Regions from separate parts of the Homo sapiens genome. Here region 2 is linked to region 1. Evidence: promoter capture Hi-C in 16 types of primary human blood cells and fetal thymus (Javierre and others, 2016). All regions are on one chromosome and are shown on one strand. The core of a region is centred on a gene start or on the middle of the fragment in contact, and the rest is flanking DNA. Distances in the headings are between cores, read along the strand shown. Region 1 holds the start of ZNF234 (zinc finger protein 234). Region 2 holds the start of ZNF404 (zinc finger protein 404).

What was found. The method cuts DNA at HindIII sites, captures the fragments that hold promoters and counts their contacts. A CHiCAGO score of 5 or more calls a contact.
Region 2: a fragment that was not itself captured here is called in contact with the fragment with the promoter of ZNF234 in region 1 in 8 of 17 cell types (erythroblasts, total CD8 T cells, M2 macrophages and 5 more); the score reaches 7.4 in erythroblasts.

Annotation. Positions count from the first base shown.
Region 1 is chr19:44,138,439-44,144,279 of GRCh38, forward strand. ZNF234 (zinc finger protein 234) reads left to right here and starts at 3,116. Exons shown (of 6, transcript NM_006630.3): 1 at 3,116-3,295; 2 at 3,876-3,929. RefSeq lists enhancers at 3,144-3,543, 3,298-3,888, 3,554-3,603. The HindIII fragment of the contact is 9,485 bases long and covers 412-5,841 here.
Region 2 is chr19:43,877,679-43,884,023 of GRCh38, forward strand. ZNF404 (zinc finger protein 404) reads right to left here and starts at 6,286. Exons shown (of 3, transcript NM_001033719.3): 1 at 6,278-6,286; 2 at 2,332-2,458. The coding sequence starts at 6,286. The HindIII fragment of the contact is 320 bases long and covers 4,430-4,749 here.

The sequences.
Region 1 (5,841 bases), core at 1,866-4,365:
TTTTGTCAGCTGAGAGGGTCAAGAATAAAAAACACTAAGGTAGCAGCGATCATACCTAGCACTCAGTTCTTTGTTTCTAACTACATTTTCCACAAATAGGAACCAGAAGTCCTAGGAGAAATATCTGATCTCATGGCTAGGGTAGGGAAAATACCCAATGAACTTGAAAAATACCTAATGAACTTGGAACACACAGTATCAGAAAGTAAACCAGTGCACAAAGAGCTCATATCATGATGAACAGGAGGAGCCAGAAGGCAAGAGGGGACTGCTTGAAGAGGATTTTACTGGCAAAATCTGAGACAACCAGAGAATCAAAATACATAATAACAGTAGTAGATGTGAACTCATTAATATAACAAGAATTCACAAATCCACACTGGTATAAACAAATAAATAATATAGATGGAAAGCTTTTTCTTAGAGCATAATGCCAAAAAATCAACATAGAATGAGTTGGAGTATCTCAGTTTTTCACCAGATAGTAGTAACTTTTTAGGGGAAAAATAATTTTAGAGTGCAGAATTCTGGAGAGAAACCCCTTAATCAACTGTTCAAGTTTAGCAGCACCAGTAATGGATAAAAACTAGTATCTGGTATATCCTGAGATCATGCACTAAGGACAGAAATTGATCATAATCCAGAAAGACATAATCTTGAATGTTGGAATCGCTGAAGATCAAAATGTTAAAAATATAACCCTGGAAAAAATAATTTTAAATTTTTTAGAAGATATTGACTGATTTACATTTCTTTCTTTTCTTCCTTTTTTTTTTTGTTTTTTTTTCTGAGACAGAGTCTCGCTCTGTCACTCAGCTGGAGTGCATTTCCCTTCCTTCCTCCCTCCCTTCCACTTTTTTTTTTTTTTTCTGAGACAGTGTCTCGTTCTGTCACCCAGATTGGAGTGCAGTGGCGTGATCTCGGCCTCCCAGGTTCAAGTGATTCTTGTACCTCAGCCTCCTGAGTAGCTGGGATTACAGGCATGTATCACCATGCCACGCCCAGCTGATTTTTTGTATTTTTAGTGGAGACAGTGTTTCACTATGTTGGCCAGGCTGGTCTCAAACTCCTGGCCTCAAGTAATCCGCTGGCCTTGGCATCCCAAAGTACTGGGTTTACAAGCGTGAGCCACTGCGCCTGGCCGAGATGGAGCATCTCAATAAATTTTGTCATTTGGAAGGGCCGACTAGAGCAACAATACAGCTGTAACTAGTATAGAAATAGCAGTCAGTCAATTTTCAAAGAGGGGGATGTGTGGCATTGTGTGGTTAGCATAGTAACCTTGTTTTTATGTAAACACAATTGTGAAAAGGTATTTTTTTAGTTTATAAAATGAATCTAGAATGTGAGACTTCATTTTTTAAAAAACAAAAATATAGATTGATAAGTGTATTAGTCCATTCCCCCATTGCTATAAAGAAATACGTGAGTCTGGGTAATTTATAAAGAGGTTTCATTGGCTCACACAGAGTCCTGCAGCCTGTAAAGGAAACATGGCAGCATCAGCTCAGCTTCTGGGGAGGCCTCAGGAAACTTACAACCATGCTGCAAGGCGACTAGGGAGCCAGCACTTCACATGGCCAGAGTAGGAGGAAAAGAGCGAGGAGTGAGATGCTACACAATTTTAAACAAGCAGATCTCATGAGAACTCTATCAGGAGAACAGCACTAGAGGGATGGTGCTAAACCATTAGAAACCTCCCCGGTGATCCAATCGCCTCCCACCAGGCCCCAACTCCAACACTGGGGATTACATTTCAACATGAGATTTGGGTGGGGACACAGATCTAAACCATATCAATAGGCCAATGTATGTTTATGGGGAGAAAAAAATCTGGTTATCTTTTTTTTTTTTTTTTTTTCCGTGACAGAGTCTTGCTCTGTCGCCCAGGCTGGAGTGCAGTGGCATGATCTCGGCTCACTGCAACCTCTGCCTCTCAGGTTCAAGCGATTCTCCTACCTCAGTCTCCCGAGTAGCTGGAATTACAGGCACGCACCACCATGCCCGGCTAATTTTTGTATTCTTAGTAGATATGGGTTTTCACCATGTTCTCCTGGCTGGTCTCGAACTCTTGACCTCATGGTCCGCCCGCCTTGGCCTTCCCAAAGTGCTGGGATTACAGGCGTGAGCCACCGCACCCAGCCCCTGGTTATCTTGAAGAAAGATTTTAGATGGGTTTTTTTCTGATTTTGCTTTATTCTATTATTTATTTGTATCAACCAATGTAAGCCAGATTCCAAATTGCTAACTATAATGACGATATTTTAACCAAAAAATATAAAGGAAGAAAATAAAATATGTTCCTTCACGTATAGGATCCTCCTTAATGCTACTGCATTAAATAAATCATAGGCATTGGGTGTCTGACATCAATGCCAAGCGCTTCACCAGTTATACTTGCTTTGAAGTATTGGGCAATTTAAGAGCTTCTCTGAAATTTGGTGTTTTTACCTCTTCAGTAGACATAATACCATGAAAAGTGTAAACGAAAGAAGATAGCTTTTCCATGAGGACAGGGCTTCCCCACTGGCCCTCTCAAATGATGATTGTTTTTCCTGCCAAACCAGTGGTACCACAGCGTCTGGAGTAGGGGCTGGCACCTTCTTTGTTCTTCATTGCCTCTCCCAAACCATTGTACTTGCTCACTCTTCCAACTTTTAGTTTTGGCCTCATATTATCAGTTTATAGTAATCAATCATCAATCATCTACTGACCCCTAAAAAGTCATTCCCCATTTAGTCCTTGAAGATTGTATCTCCTCGCTTGTTCTCTTTCCAATAATCCTCCGTAGTCCTGGGAGGCGTTTAGACTTCAGGAATTGCTGTCTATTCAATATTTTCGCTCAAGGACTCAGGCAGAGGGAAGGACGACTCTCAGGGTCACAGTCCACATTCCCTACCAAGCGCTCAGCGATATAGGATTCGTTCCCCATGGGCAGTGCGGGAATCGTAGGCAAGGAGCACCGCGGAGTCCCATCGCTTTTCCCTGAAGGGTGAGATTCTGAACGTTTTTCCCTCAGCATTCTGAGTGTAATCCAAACGCTCAGTGGAGTCGTGGTCCATTTGACCCACGCAGGGGGATCCGGGGAATTCTGGGAAATGTAGTCCCGCCAATCAGTGGAGTCGCGGGCACTTCCGCTCCAGGGAAGAGGGGGCGATTGTCACGGCACATTCCACGGTAGTTTCTTCCAGTTCCGCGACTCGCGGGCCCCTCCTAATGTCAGGGACTTAAGATTGGGGCTCGCTGGGACCTGGTGGTCCGGTTATGGGAAAAGAAGCCTCGTGGGAGAGCAGAGGTTTGGTGGGGCGAGGGCGGCGGCTTTTGTTGTGTCAGCGGAGCCTTCTTGGGCTGGGGCTCCCCTCGTGTCCCGCGGCGGGAGGCGGGGGGCATTGGGACTTGGTTGGGTCGCGTCTCGCCTGGTTTGAGGGTTTCCGGGGCTCTGAGCTCGCCCACTCCGCCTCCCTGCACTCCAGGCGCGCAGTCACTTTTTTACAGTGCAAGGTTGGCGTGTTAATCTCCCTGGGCCTCTCCTTGCTGTTCTTTAAAATGGGGACGTTAGGACCATCTTTGTAGAATCGTTTTGGTAACTGGAATAGGTTACACAACACAAACAGTCCCTGTCACTTGGTGAGTGGTGGTTTCTTGTTACTTTCCCACGAAACCTGTTAGGTCCCCCGGTGGGGTCAGAGCTCCAGCAGCAGGGGCCTCAGCCCTTATCTCTGATCCCTGCAGGACGCTGGACGATCCCGGACGCCTTCTGACCTCTTTTTAGGCAGGCGAGGGTTGCGTCCACTTCCACGAAGGGAGGGGAGCATTTAACTTTTCTCAGGGACAGCGACCCAGTCAGGATGTTTCACAGCTTTCTCCTTCCCCAGCCTGAAAAAGGACTGCGCGGACTGACTTCTTGGCTACTGAAAGCAAAGCTCCACGTGAGTGTGACTTGTCATTTTTCTTTTACAGAGACTGTATCTTTGTAGCATGTGTAATAGGGCATGGGCATTTATAATAATTAAGCCTTAATTGCTAACTTCAATTCTAGGGGATTTATACAATTAGATACGTTTAAGCCGCAACGTGACTCTGTGGAGAGGTACTGGTCATCCAAGTAGTAAGAGGTGAAACTTGGGTTGGAACCTAGGCATTCAGGGTCAGAGCCCGAGTTGATCATCTCTTGGATATATTCTCATTGAGGCAGAGGAACTAGCTGTACTCAGGTGGGGAAAGTAAGTTAGAACTTGATTAAAGGACCTTAAGAGCAAGGCTAATTGCCTTGGAGTTTTCTCAGTTTTTAAAAACTGTCAACTATTTTGTTTCATTTATTACAAATATTTCACATTCTAATAGAACCGTATCACTGTGAAGCATTCAGAAATTACAGAAATACGAAGATACAAAAATTGTAATTACCTATGAAATCAGGATGTAAAGATAGTAATGGTTAAATTTCTAATGCATTTTGTTTTAGTGGTTCCATGTTTATATTACTTATAAATGTTTTACAAAATTTTTATTATACATTTCTCAATGTTTTTCTATTTATCTGCTTATCCATGGAAATTTCCAGATAAAGAGATAATAAACTAGTGACCTGCCATATTCTATCATGCTCATTCTTATTCTTCTCATTATTATTTCTCCTATGACTATTTCCTGATTTTTTAAAAAAACTTTAACACAGTAATTATATAATTTTAAGTCTATAGAAAAGTTGCAAAAATAGTATAAGAGGGCAGGGCATGGTGGGTCATGCCTGAGTCCTGAGTTATGGAACTGAGGCACTCAGGGTCACAGCCCGAGTAATCCCAGCACTTTGGGAGGCCAAGGCCTGTGGATCACTTGAGGCCAGGAGTTTGAGACCCGCCTGGCCAGCATGACAAAAACTCGTCTCTGGCCGGGCGCGGTGGCTCACGCCTGTAATCCCAGCACTTTGGGAGGCCGAGGCGGGCGGATCACGAGGTCAGGAGATCAAGACCATCCTGGCTAACATGGTGAAACCCCGTCTCTACTAAAAATACAAAAAATTAGCCGGGCGTGTTGGCGGGCACCTGTAGTCCCAGCTACTTGGGAGGCTGAGGCAAGAGAATGGTGTTAACCCGGGAGGCGGAGCTTGCAGTGAGCCGAGATTGCGCCATTGCACCCCAGCCTGGGCAACAGCGCAAGACTCTGTCTCAGAAAAAGAAAAAAAAAAAAAAAAGAAAACCCGTCTCTACTAAAGATACAAAAATTAGCCACATGTGGTAGTGCGCGCCTGTAATCCCAGCTACTCTGGTGGCTGAGGCATGAGAATCGCTTGAACCCAGGAGGAGAAGGTTGCAGTGAGCCAAGATTGCACCACTGCTCTCCAGCCTGGGCAACAAGAGCAAAACTCTGTCTCAAATAAATTAAAATAAAATAAAATTAATTTTTATGAGTAGATATACTTGTTAGTGGGCAACATACTGTAAAGACCAGCATCCCCTGTTCCCCTGTTTGCTTATTCATTCATTCAAAAGTAAATATTCTATCAATATGGACTCAGAACGCAGTCTTGTTAAATTAAATGACATGTAGATTAATAATTTTTTTCCAACTTTATTGAGGTGTATTTTATGTATCAGAATTCACCCATTTCAAGTGTACAATTCAGTAATCTTTAGGAACTTTGCTGAGTGTAGTAATCATCATCATCATTTAGTTTAGATCATTTTCATCCCCCAATTGGACTCCTCTTGCCCATTTACAGTTAATCCCCATTCTTATCCTAAATCCCCATCAACAAGTAACCTACTTTCTTTATAAACATTTGTCTGTTCTGAACGTTTCATATACATGAAATCATACAATCTGTGGTTTGGTGTGCCT
Region 2 (6,345 bases), core at 3,340-5,839, 260 kb before region 1:
CCCACTAACTCGTCATCTAGCATTAGGTATATCTCCCAATGCTATCCCTCCCCCCTCCCCCCACCCCACAACAGTCCCCAGAGTGTGATGTTCCCCTTCCTGTGTCCATGTGATCTCATTGTTCAATTCCCACCTATGACTGAGAATATGCGGTGTTTGGTTTTTTGTTCTTGCGATGGTTTACTGAGAATGATGGTTTCCAATTTCATCCATGTCCCTACAAAGGACATGAACTCATCATTTTTATGGCTGCATAGTATTCCATGGTGTATATGTGCCACATTTTCTTAATCCAGTCTATCATTGTTGGACATTTGGGTTGGTTCCAAGTCTTTGCTATTGTGAATAATGCCGCAATAAACATACGTGTGCATGTGTCTTTATAGCAGCATGATTTATAGTCCTTTGGGTATATACCCAGTAATGGGATGGCTGGGTCAAATGGTATTTCTAGTTCTAGATCCCTGAGGAATCGCCACACTGACTTCCACAATGGTTGAACTAGTTTACAGTCCCACCAACAGTGTAAAAGTGTTCCTATTTCTCCACATCCTCTCCAGCACCTGTTGTTTCCTGACTTTTTAATGATTGCCATTCTAACTGGTGTGAGATGGTATCTCATTGTGGTTTTGATTTGCATTTCTCTGATGGCCAGTGATGGTGAGCATTTTTTCATGTGGTTTTGGCTGCATAAATGTCTTCTTTTGAGAAGTGTCTGTTCATGTCCTTCGCCCACTTTTTGATGGGGTTGTTTGTTTTTTTCTTGTAAATTTGTTTGAGTTCATTGTAGATTCTGGATATTAGCCCTTTGTCAGATGAGTAGGTTGCGAAAATTTTCTCCCATTTTGTAGGTTGCCTGTTCACTCTGATGGAACTACCCTGGAGGCTCTGGCTGAGTACTGATATGAATTTACATGTGAGCAAACTAATGAGGCAAAGGAAAGCACCACCATATAGGGGTAGGCAGAACAATACCTGAAAGTCACCAAGGGTAGTTAGGGGATAGTTCCTGTTTCCACCAGCCAGGAGTGGTAAGTTGGCCCTAAGGCTCTACAACTACTTTTCCCCTGAAAAAACTCCCTGATTCTAAGTACAGCAGGAGTTAAAAGAACAGCGTTTACAAAGAGGTAGCTGAGCATTATCAAACTGAAAACCAGCAGTGACCCATTTAATTCCTGGTTGTATTACTGTCATCAGCCTGCATTCTATCAGACTAACAGAGGAAAACATAAATACCCTCTGGTGGAAGATAGCATCATCTGAAACCTCTTCAGTTATTTTATATGCAATGCCCAGCATACAATCACAACTACTAGTAACTTGAAGATGCATTAACAAATGACAAATAACAAGATTAAAAGAAAGAAACAATAAAGAAGCAGACCCCCAGATGATACAAAAAATGAGGCATAAAAGAATTAAAAAATTAACTATGATTAAAATGTTCCAAGAAAACAGATGAAAATTTAGTAATAAAAGGAAAGCAAATAAAAGAATGAAGATTTCAACAAGTATTTGGAAGTTATAAAAGAGAATTAAATTGAATTTCTGGAACTGAAAAAGACAATATCTGACATGAAAAACCCCTCTTTAGAAAACAGAATAAGTGAGCTGGAATACAGGTCAACAGGAAACATTCAAACTCCATCATATGAAAAATAGAGGGGAAAGAGAGGAGAAAAGCAGATAAGGACATGAAAAAGTTGTGGGATATGCTCAAAAGGTCTAACATAGGTGTAATTAAAGTCCCAGATGGGAGGAGAGAATGGTCACCTATCTTCCAAAAACTGAACAAAGACTGCCCCTTCTGCATGGAATCTATCAGATCACTGGAAGCCAACAGGCCAACTGCTAGAACTACAAAAATAACAGTAAAAAAGAGAATAATCTTAATTCATTCTACTACTATAAAAATTATGGAGGCTCTTTTGTGGTAAAGAGAAAACCATGGTTTTTTATGTAGGAAGATTAGCAATTAAAGTATTTACAGACATTCTGAACACACATATAATTTAAAATTTGTTTTTGCTGATAGTGTCTTTGCAGAAAAATACCAGAATTCAAACCTCTAGTCATTTAGAAAAAGAAGTAATTATAGGACAGGGCAGAGGCAGGCATAAAGGCAAGTGAAGAATAGTGAAGATTCAGGTGCTGAATGGGGGTGCCCATTCCACCTAACAAACTTCAAATATGCCCATTTCCACCTAACAAACTTTGAGAATATGGAGCAGAAATGTAGCTGGTTTCTTGGCATAGACCATAAAATATACAACAGAGAAGGCTGATATTCTAGAGAGCATATTGTACATCATTTTGTGCAGATATTCTTACCCAATGAGACCAAGTTAGTATAATTCTCCAACATCACATCTCTGTACAAATCCCTCTGATCCGAGTTTAAATATTCCCACTCCTCCTGAGAGAAGTCTATGGCAACATCGCTGAATGTCAATGGCACCTGAAATGACAAACCTGTGTATTATTTGTAAAAGTAAAGAAGACTTTTCAAGATGGAACATTAAATTGCAATAAAGGGGCAATATGTAAAAAGAAGTAGTCTAGAGTTACAAGATGATGACATGGTTAGATAAGAGTAAATAAATTAGCATGTCTTAAGTAGAGTGCCCACACAATCTTAAGGAATCCTGTTGGAGCACACAAAATTTTCTTAGTAATATTAGAGAAAAATCCAAATATATAAAAATAAATGAAGTCACCAAACTTTCCAAATTAAATAGTATATATAAGCACAATACCTTCTACGTACCTAAGCCATATAATATTAATAAATACAAGTTGTTACAGCTTTTCTCTTCGAGGAATATGAAAAACCATGAATTGATAACTACCCCCTCCCCCAATTGTATTATAAAATCTTTTCCAGCCAACACGGAATAACAGGGATTGAATTTACCTTCTTGTATGAAACAACTGAAAATCTGAACAAAATATATTAAACCATGGTTTTCAAGACAGAAAACATTGCGCAATGATACCTGAAAGACAAGTAACAAATGAGGTGAAACCTACAGTCACACTAGTTTACTGTAAGGAGACAATTTCTAGGCTGTGGCACAGGGAGCGGGAACCTAAGCAAAGCCCACTGGATTCCACTGAGAACAAGAAAAGTACAAACCAATATCCATCATGGACACAGATGCAACGATTCCAAACAAAGTTTTAGCACATCAAATCTAACAGTATATAAGAAAGGGAACTCTATTATGACCAAGGCTCAATCCAAGCCTGTCTCACATTTAAAAATCAATCAAGGTAATGCACCATATTCACAAACTACAAAAGAAAAACCGTATGAACATATCAATAGATGCAGAAAAGGCATCTGACAAAAGCCAACATCCACTGCTGATATCCTTGGTGAAACAAGAAAAGAAGGGAACATCCTTAACCCAATGAATGACATCTATAAAAAACCCATAGCTAACATCACATTTGATAGTGAAAGGCTGAATGCTTTCCTCCCCAAATCAGGAATATAGCAAGGATATCTACTCTCACCACTTCTATTCAACATTGTACTAGCGGTTCTAGCCAGTGCAACTCAGGCAAGAAGAAGAAATAAAAAGCATCTAGATTGAAAAAGAAGTAAAAATCTCTTTATTCACAGATAACATGATTGTCTATATAGAAAATCTAATAGAATCTAATAAAAATTCATTAAAACTATCAAGTGAGTTAGCAAGCTGAGAAGATACAAGCTCAATATGTTAAACATAAATGGCATTTTAATTAGCAACAATTGGTGGAAATTAAAATTAAAAATACTGAATATCAAATGAAAAATATAAAATACTTAGGAATCAATCTAACAAAAGATGACAATACTAATACTCTCATAACTACAAATAATTACTGAGAAAAAACTTAAAAGATCTAAACAAATAGAAAGCTATAATATGTTCATCAGTCAGATGACTCTTACCTTTGCAAACAGATCCACAGATTCAACAAAATCTCAGTCAAAATCCCAGCAGAGGCCAGGTGCGATGGCTCACCCCTGTAATCCCAGCACTTTCGGAGGGTGAGGCAGGCGGATCACCTGAGGTTGGGAGTTCGAGACCAGCCTGACCAACATGGAGAAACCCTGTCTCTACTAAAACATACAAAATTAGCCAGGTGTGGTAGCGCATGCCTGTAATCCCAGCTTCTCAGGAGGCTGAGGCAAGAGAATTGCTTGAACCTGGGAGGTGGAGGTTGCAGTGAGCCAAGATCACATCATTGCACTCCAGCCTGGGCAACAAGAGTGAAACTCTGTCTCAAAAAAAAAAAAAAAAAAAAAATCCCAGCAGAGCTTTTGTAAAAATAGACAAGGTGATTCTAAAATTCAGATGAAAACACAAAGGATCTAGAATAACCTAGACAACATTGAAGAAGAGCACAGTTGGAGGATCAACCCTACTAATTGGAAAGCTTAACGTAATACTACAATAATAAAGAGTATGTGGTGTTTGCATAAACGTAGACAAATAAGTCAATGGAACAGAGTTGAGAAATAGACCTACACGTATCTAGACAACTGGCTTTAAACAAGTGACTAAAGGCAATTCAGTGGATAAAGGACCGTCTTTTAAAAAAATGGTGTAGGAACAACTGGATATCTATATGCAAAATAAATTATCCATACCTTGTACCATATGCCAAGATTAACTTAAAATGGCACATGGAGATAAACATAAAACATAAAACTATAGAGCTTCTATGAGAAAACACAGTATAAAAATCTACATAAGCTTGGGGTGAGGCAAAGATTTCTTAGATACAACACCAACAGTACAATCCCTAAAGAAAAAGTACAATCTGTAAAGAAAAGAAAAAGCTGATAAACTGGATTTCATCCAGAAATGGAACTCTCATACACTGTTGGTGGGAATGTAAAATGGTATTATCACTTTGAAAAATTAAAAACTTCTGCTCTTCAAAATTCAGTTAAAAGAATGAAAAAATGGCCAAGTATGGTGGCTTATGCCTGTAATCTCAGCACTTTGGGAGGCTGAGGTGGGAGGATCACTTGAGCCCAGGAGTTTGAGGCTGCGGTAAACCTTGATAACAAAACTGCACTCCAGCTTGGGCAAGAGAGCAAGACCCCATCTCTAAAAAAAAAAAAAAAAAATTAAAAAGAGGCTGGGCATTGTGGCTCATGACTGTAATCCCAGCACTTTGAAAGGCTGAGGTGGGCAGATCACTTGAAGTTAGGAATTCAAGACCAGCCTGGCCAACATGGTGAAACCCCATCTCTACTAAACATACAAAAATTTGCTGGGCATGGTGGCAGGTGCCTGTAATCCTGGCTACTTGGGAGGCTGAGGCAGGAGAATCGCTTGAACCTGGGCAGCAGAGGTTGCAGTGAGCCAAGATAACGCCACTGTACTCTATCCTGGGTGACAGAGTGAGACTCCATCTCAAAGAAAAAAAAAAGAATCAAGTGACAAGCACCCTCTTATTAGATTCATCTTTCTTAAGGTATTAAGGCACTATTATTAAAAATAATATTATTGTATAAAGAATTATACTAATATGGCATGTATGTTGGACACAAATTCCAACCTCTTCCCCATAGTTCAATATCATCTACCACATATCATTCTAGTTGATTTTCCTTTCTACAACTCTTTATAGATCTGTTCCTGAGTTGGAACACAGTAATGCAGAATGATCCAGAACAACCTTGATTCCCTCAGGACTGTCAATTTCTCTTCCACTACAAAATGGGACCCTGGAATTGTTTTCATTTCTCAGTGATCCCTTAGCTAGATCCCTAATCTCTCTCTAGGTAAGTGATAATCCCATCTTCACTCAAACCTAAATGCGTTTCAAAGTTGAGATCTCATCTCAAACAGACTGAGACCACTCATAACCAAGTTTTCCCTTATCTAACTGTGGAGATAAGGGAGCTGTGGAGAAAGTTTCCACTCCTGTAGTCAAATAGGACCATTGTTCCTATGCCACGAAACCATGAACCTGACAACGGCAGCTCAACTATTTCAAGGTACTTCACTCTTTCACTGCTCTAACACTGCTCTTGAGAGAAGACTGAACACACAGAAGATGGATGAATTATTTGAAAATAAGTGAAAATCAGTTCAAAAAAGGAGGGCAAATGAGGAGGACATCATCCATCACTGGAATGGGAGGAATGTGAAATAGGTTCCAAGAGAGAGCTTTCTGAGATAGGAGGTTTCAGGATTAAAAAAATGAAAATATTACATGAATTAAAAAATCACAATAAGTCAGAAAAGCAAAAGAGACATCAACTCACCCGGGCCATGGTTTCAGAAATGCTAGTTCTCTTCAGGTTTCCTCTATCAGAGAAGCAGAGTTCAGAGA